Linked DNA regions of Homo sapiens: region 1 is linked to region 2. The links are contacts of gene promoters, found by promoter capture Hi-C in human tissues and cell types (Jung and others, 2019). All regions are on one chromosome and are shown on one strand. The core of a region is centred on a gene start or on the middle of the fragment in contact, and the rest is flanking DNA. Distances in the headings are between cores, read along the strand shown. Region 1 overlaps GRK3 (G protein-coupled receptor kinase 3). Region 2 holds the start of MYO18B (myosin XVIIIB).

Region 1 (4,002 bases), core at 1,065-3,564, 100 kb before region 2:
AGGTGTGAGGTAACAATTCCTTTCATCTTTTTCCCCATATGGATATCAGCTTTCCCAGCATCATTTGTTGAAAAGACTTAAATTGACTATATAAATGTGGGCATATTCTGGGACCTTATATTTCTGTTCCAGTGATTTAATCTAATGCCACTACATTATATAGCCATATTAATCAATCTAATGTATTGATTAAGATTAGTATGGCTATGTAATGAGTCTTGAAATTGGATAGCGTTAAGGCTTTGAACTTTGTTCTTCTTTCTTAAGATGTTTTGGGTATTCTAGGTTTTTTGCATTTCCATATATATTTTCGAATCAGCTTGTCAGTTTCTTTAAAAAGGCCTGTTGGAGTTATGATTGTAATTGCACTGAATCTACAAATTATTCTGGGAAGAATTAACATCTAAGCAATACTAAATCTTCCAGTCCATGAACTGAGTATGTATTTCCATTTATTTAGATCTTCTTTAATTTCTCTCAGTAACATTTTATAGTTTTTAGCATACTGTTCTTGTATGTCATTTATTTGTTTATTCCTATGTATTGATAGTTCTTTGTTATTACAAATTGACTTGTTTTTAAAATTCCATTTTAAAATTGTGTGCTATGAGTTTATAGAAATTTCATTGGTTTTTATCTAATGACCTTATGTCCTGTGGCCTTGCTAAATTTACTTACATATTCTAGTAGTTACTTATAGATAGGATTTGCCAGGTAGGTAACCAGATTGAATAGAATCAGTTTTAGTTCTTCCTTTTCAATTTGAATAACTGTTATTTCATTTTCTTACTTTATTGCATTGGCTAGGACCTCCAATACAATGTTGAAGAGGAGTGAGATTACATATTGCAGCATTTTCTTATCTGACATGCATTGTATTTTGTTTGTCTCACAGCTCAGAAAGGCCTTACTGACCATTCTGTCTGAAATACATCTTCCTCTTTTTATCATTATCTCAGCATCATACTTAATTACTTTATATTCCTTGTCATAAATTATATGTATTTCTTTGTTGTCTGTCTCTTACACTAATCCGTAAGCGCTTTATTGGAAAAACACTGTTTTCACAATCACATCCTCAGTGAATAACACAGTGGCTCTTAGTAGATACTCAGTAAATGTTTTGTAGAATTAGTCAATATTGGGAGGAAGTTTTAGCAGTTATGCAGTCTATTCTCCTTACTGTCTTAATCTCCTTGGCAAAACTGAGGACAAGTATTTTTTCTTGCAAGAAAATTTTCATATTTCTCTTTTCACCTTTCTAATTTTTAGGAGATTTAATTTCAAATTTTCTCATAGAAACCACTTATATTTAATACTTTCAAAAGTTCTTAACTTACATTTTATAAAAAGCAATACAATTCTTTCTACTAATTTTTGAAAAATTATCGTGATGGCGGGTGTTACATACACTAAAAAGTTAATCAATATTCAGCATTTTGCAGTGGTTCAAATATAGCAACAAAGTAAACACATTTCACAAATATCTACTAAGCAGGTGTTAGGTCACCATTTTTTACTCTTTAAGATCTGGAGAAATTGCAGCGATGAAGTGAACTTGTTAGGCAAAATATTTCCTTATTTTTGCCTCTCATATTTTGCCCTAATCTAGGCCATGCTTCATTTGCTTTTTATATAATTTAAGGCTGATGAAGGTAAGTTGCGTTCAGCCTAGGACACAGTGATCTAGGATTTAGCCAAAAGGCAAATATCTTTCTTCCTGCTGCTCAATTTTAGCAGCTCCATTTAAACAGCTGGTAGAAAGTAAAGCTTCAGTTTATGTGCACATAGGAGGAAAATAATATTTTGTGTTTTCTATTGTGTGTTGAACTAAGTCCTTGGCTTATTCTACTGACCGACAATGGAGATTTCCTTAAATAAATAGGTAAACACATTCTAAGTTGGGTGTTCATTCATTCAACTCCCTCTTTCCCTCATCCCTCCTCTTTCTGTCCTCTTCCTTCCTCCTTTCCCCCGACTTCCCTCCCTCTCCTTGTACCTTTGCTCTTTCTTCTACCTTTCTTCCTTTGTTCTCTCTCCTGAGCTCTGTCTTTGTTACAGTCAATGCTCTTGTGCAAATGTAGTAGAGAATAAAACACCTGTACCCTATGCATTGCAGCTTACATTGTAGTGGGAGAGGTAGACAGTAAAGAAGCAAATATAAACATGCGACAATTTTTGCTCATCGTAAGTGCTACAAAGTGTTTTGTGGTGTGTGTGTGTGAATGGATGCGAGATAGAGACAGCAGGACAGTGAGAATGAATGAGAATCATGAAAGGCCTCCTCAAGGAAAGGGATATGTGAAGTGAGCTAGTGAGCTGTTCATTTAGAAGATCCAGGAAAAGTGTGTGAGGCAGTGGGAATAGCCGGTAAGAAACCCTGAGAAGGGAATGAGCTTGGTGTCAGAGAAACTACAGTACAGAAGCTTGGCCTAAGTGAAGTGAGCTTGGGGGGAGCACTGTGAGATGAGGCCAGAGAAGGAAATGGTGACTCCAGAGGACGTGGGTAGGCTATGGTGAAGAGTTTCAGTTTGATTCCAAGTGTAGTCAAAAGACAGTGGTCCATGTGTGGTATTATTTCATTTTGTCATTTAGACATTTTGAAAACATCTCTAATTTGATCAAAATACTTAAGTTCAAATTCTCATGTTAGTTTTGTCTTCCAGAAATAGAAAAAGAAATACATGTGGCAAAAACTGACAACATTGAAAAAAGATGAACAAATCTACAATTACAAATGGAGAGTTCAACACTTCACTGTTGATGATGGATAGAATAAATAGACAGATGGCCGCGCGGTGGCTCACGCCTGTAATCCCAGCACTTTGGGAGGGCAAGGCGGGTGGATCACCTGAGGTCAGGAGATCGAGACCAGTCTGGCCAACATGGTGAAACCCCGTATCTACTAAAAATGCAAAAATTAGCCGGCCATGATCGCGGGTGCCTGTAATCCTAGCTACTCGGGAGGCTGAGGCAGGAGAATTGCTTGAACCTGGGAGGCAGAGGTTGCAGTGAGCCAAGATCGCGCCATTGCACTCCAGCCTGGGCGACAGAGCAAGACTCCATCTCAAAAATAAATAAATAAATAAACAGACAGACATTCTGTAAAGATTCAGAGGATGATCTTTTATTTCTATGGATTTAGGGGGTACAAGTGCAATTTTGTTACCTAGATACATTGCATAGTGGTGAACTCTGGGCTTTTAGTGTACATTGTACTCAATCTGTGATTTTTCATGGCTTACTCCTCTCCCATCCTCCTGCCTTTTGGAGTTTCCAGTGTCTATTATTTTACTCCCTATGTCCATGTGTACCCATTGTTTAGCTCCCACTTGTAAATGAGAATGTGCAGTATTTGAGTCTCTGTTTCTGACTGACTTCACTTAGGATAATGGCCTTCAGTTCCATCTGTGTTGCTGCAGAGGACCATCTTGAAGAACTCTATCAAGCCCACTTGGTTTAATTGCCTTTGTATTCTTTTAAATGAAACACTCCACCCTATAAGAACAGAATGCACCCTTTCTTCAAGTGCCATACAGCATTCCGTTAGATAGACCAAAAGTTTCAATGCATTTAAAAGCATTGAAATCATACCAAGCATGTTCTCTGACCACAACAGAGCTAAACAGAAAATCAGTGTCTGAAAAATCCCCAAATATTTTGAAATTAAACTACACCCTTCTGAAGGACTCACGGATCAAAGAAGAAATGACAAGGGAAATTAGAAAGTCCTTTGAAATGAATAAAAATGAAGAGACAACGATTACTCTTAAAATCAGAATACTAACATACGAACAGATAGAGATGTGTATCCTTCCCATTTGCCTGCTTCTTGAATTTCCTACTTCCTGCCTATGTTGGGGTCGTTGCAGTTTCTCCATGGGAGGAGCGTGGCTGTGCTCCTGCTGCAGGTGTGCGCCTGACCCTGGTAAAGTCTGGCTATGCCTATTTAACTAGTACTCTTAGTCATTCTACTCTAGTTTGAGTGAACGAACACTTACC
Region 2 (3,661 bases), core at 560-3,059:
GGGGCCGCAGGGACCCCTCCTCAACCTCATGTATATTATGTATATTGTATTTTCTTTTTCTTTCTTTTCTTTTCTTTTTTTTTTCAAAATGTAGTTTTGCTCTTGTCGCCCAGGCTGGAGTGCAATGGCGCCATCTCTGCTCACTGCAACCTCTGACTCCTGGGTTCCAGCTATTCTCCTGCCTCAGCCTCCCGAGTTGCTGGGATTACAGGTGCCCGCCACCACGCCCAGCTAATTTTCGTATTTTTAGTAGAGGTGGGGTTTCACCATGTTGGCTAGGCTGGTCTCAAACTCCTGACCTCAAATGATCCACCCGCCTTAGCCTCCCAAAGTGCTGGGATTACAGGTGTGAGCCACCATACCCGGCCTAGACTGCCATTTTCTAAGCAGCCTTCCCTTAGTGTTTCAATGAACTTCTGATTGAATGCTAATTTTCAAGACCTCGGCAGAAGTGAGTACTTTGGGAAAATATTGCTCGATGAGCTCTGGGGAAAGAGGAGCAGCACCACATAGCAATTATTGAAACAATTCTCACAGGAGCAGTATCATGCTGGGCTGATTGCGGTCTTTGGAACCAGAAAGACTTGGATTTGAGTCATGACTCTACCCTTTGCTAGCTGCATGGACCTGCATGGTTTATCCAATTTATTGAAGTCTGTACTTTGCTCCTTTTAGGCAGTGGACAAAGCACTTTTTTTGTTGTTGTTTTTTTGAGATAGAGTCTCTTATCGCCTAGGCTAGAGTGCAGTGGCGTGACCTTAGCTCATTGCAACCTCCGCCTCCTGGGTTCAAGCAATTCTCCTGCCTCAGCCTCCCAAGTAGCTGGGATCACAGACAACCACTACCCCACCCAGCTGATTTTTTTTTTTTTTTTTGAGATGGAGTCTCTCTCTGTCACCCAGGCTGGAGTGCAGTGGCGCGATCTCGGCTTACTGCAAGCTCCGCCTGTAGCTGGGACTACAGGCGCCCACCACCACGCCCGGCTAATTTTGTTTTTGTATTTTTAGTAGAGACGGGGTTTCACTGTGTTAGCCAGGATGGTCTCAATCTCCTGACCTCGTGATATGCCCACCTCGGCTTCCCAAAGTGCCGGGATTACAGACGTGAGCCACCGTGCCAGGCCCAAAGCACTTTTTTATAGCCCCTAGTTTGCTGTTGTGTCTGTTTCCTCTACGGCCCGCACAGCCTGGGTTTGAATTCTGGCTCTCCATGGCCTTGGGCAAGTTGGTTAACTTTTTGTGTCTCAATTTCCCCACTTGTAAAGTGGGGCTGGGGAAAAACCCTACCTCATAGGGAACATTAAGTGAGTTCATGAAAGCCCTCGGTGTGTGGCATGCGATAACCACTACCTAAGCATAAGGTATGTTTACATGCACTGGTTGTTTACCACGACGCACCAGCATTCATTCAAGTTATTTTCTTCCAGAGTCTGCCTGGAATGTAGAACCGGCCAGCTCTCCTCCTCAAACAGTTCCTGCAACCTCTGGTTATCTGTGTGGGCAGAGGCGGGAGTGTGGGTGTGTGGCCCTGCCCTGGGACAGGGATGACGAGAGAGCATGTGCTTGTGTCCAGAGCTGTCCCCTTCCCTGCTCAGGGGCCACCAAATATGTCCATGGTCTCTGCTGCCTGGTCAACGGCCACCCCGGGCTGCCGTCTCCTGGCCAGACCTGGAGCTCACAAGCTAATTTTAGAAATGACTGGTCGACTCAGCTGCTGCTATCACATTGGCCCAGAAGGAGGGTGGGGGGAGGACGGGTCGGGGAGGGGCAGTAAGGGGAAGGGATGTGTGTCGGTGTGTGTGGAGAGGGTGCTCCTTCGCTCCTGCTTTCCCGGCTCGGTGGGGTCCCTTCGCGGCCACCCGGGGAGACGTCTTAGACAGTCGTGGTTCCTGTGATCTGTGTCCTCTTTGCAGAAGGTACTATTGGGCTGGGTTTTAGACGGGCACCTTGCGAGCGGATCGGCGAGTTTTAATTTTCCGGAATGCGCTGCTGGGGGCTGCGGTGGCAGGCCTCCGGTCTTTTGGTCTATTTTAGGCCTTTCTGGTGTTGAGAGCTTCCGAGGCCTGATTCCTTTGCCTGTTGCCCGTGCTGCTCACTTTGAAAACAAGAGTGTTTCGGTGGAAGGATTTGAGAACAAAATGCTGGGGCAAATGGACATTCGTAAGAATCACTCTCCTCAGGCCCCAGCTGTTCGCTAATAATTTTTAAAAATGTGTTTAGAATCATGAGTTAATCTCCACTGTGAATCTTTGCCCGCAGACGTCAGGGTTTATATTTTTCCTCAACTACCAGTAATTTCTGCTTCACTGGTGTTCAGTTATGGTCGGGGAAGAGCCAGGCTTCCCCTTTCGTGTTAACAACGCTGTTGAGTCGAAATGTTAATTTTAATGTTCTTTTTTAAACTGCAAATTAAGCATGTATGAGTGTTGGGGGAAGGGCAATGGAAGTTCATGGCTGAAGGTTTCAATTTCATGCCACCTTCCTTGAGCTCTGTCTGAGGGAAGGTGTCTTATCTGGCACCCCGGATAGCAGGCATTTCTCTGAATGAAGAAGATTCACAGGTCCCAGTGGCCCCATAGTGGGGCAGAAGGGGGCTATGCTTTGACATGGAGCTCTCTCCCAGGAGAGGAGAAGACCTCACCAGCTACAGGCCTCTGGGCTGCTGCCTTCCTGCAGCTTTTCCATGGAGGAGGCCAGGAGTGGGGAGGCCCGGAATGGGGAGCCCAGTCGGCTCCCAGTCGGCTCCAAGCTGTCCAGTCTGGCCTCAACCCGCAAGTGTGGGGATCTGGGCTTCTATCCTGTAGGGCCTGGAATACGACGAGGCTGTTACTTTCACTTTGTGGCTGTCCAAAAAGATGCTGCCTCATTCAGTGCACCAGCTCATGGAGGCTGAGTGTCCCACTAGGGCTTCTAGACTCCAACAAGGATAATGGTGGCCTTGGGTGCTGTATCCATTGCTGACCTAAGTTGTATTCTCCTATGCCTGGGTACCATGTCCAGTGTGTACCTTGGGAGCAGAAAAGAGAGGGGTCTATATACTCTTAGGCTATGGATGAGTTCTAGAAAATAATAGTGGAGAGGAGAGAGAGAAAAGAAGGAAGAGGAGGAGGAGAAGGAGAAGAAGAGAAGGAGGAGGAGGAAAAAAGCAGGAGGAGAAAGAGAAGAAGGAGGAGAAGAATAATAGCAAAGGAAAAGGCCAAAAGAAAAGGCCAAGTGGGTGGAGGAGGGAGGAGAAGGAGGAAGAGGAGGAGGAGAGGGAGTCTCCTGGTCTCCTGGCTTTTGAAGGGCTGCATGTTACCAATCAACAAATATTTGATGTCACCTGCCTCCAGGCCTGGTCACCTTGAATATCCTGGTGTGGGCTCTGTAACCTTGGATGAGTACTCTCCCCAGTCGGAACTTAGTTTCTCCTTCTAAAACCTGAGGGGGTTGGGCTAGACCACCTCTGGGATCTTTCCTAGGATTCAGCATCCAGGAAGGTTTTTCTTGAAGTGACGGTCGTTGACGACCTACCCATCAGACTCATGTGGGGCAGGAGGCGGGGGGCTGTTTTAAAATGCAGATTCCTGGGTTCATCCTAGACCTTTTGAACAGTCTTGGGGGAAGGGGCCCAGAAATCCACAGATTTTAAACCTCACAGGTGGTTCTGGTGCCCACCCAAA

The links. The method cuts DNA at HindIII sites, captures the fragments that hold promoters and counts their contacts. A contact is called where the count stands out against the background at its distance.
Region 1: a fragment that was not itself captured here is called in contact with the fragment with the promoter of MYO18B in region 2 in 4 of the 25 tissues and cell types used here (aorta, mesendoderm cells, spleen and 1 more).

The regions. Positions count from the first base shown.
Region 1 is chr22:25,639,364-25,643,365 of GRCh38, forward strand. The region is part of intron 2 of GRK3 (G protein-coupled receptor kinase 3); the gene reads left to right. Among named protein-coding and RNA genes, the nearest start is that of GRK3-AS1, 76 kb to the left of the region's middle. The HindIII fragment of the contact is 4,965 bases long and covers 1-4,002 here.
Region 2 is chr22:25,740,379-25,744,039 of GRCh38, forward strand. MYO18B (myosin XVIIIB) reads left to right here and starts at 1,810. Exons shown (of 44, transcript NM_032608.7): 1 at 1,810-1,915. The HindIII fragment of the contact is 19,978 bases long and covers 1-3,661 here.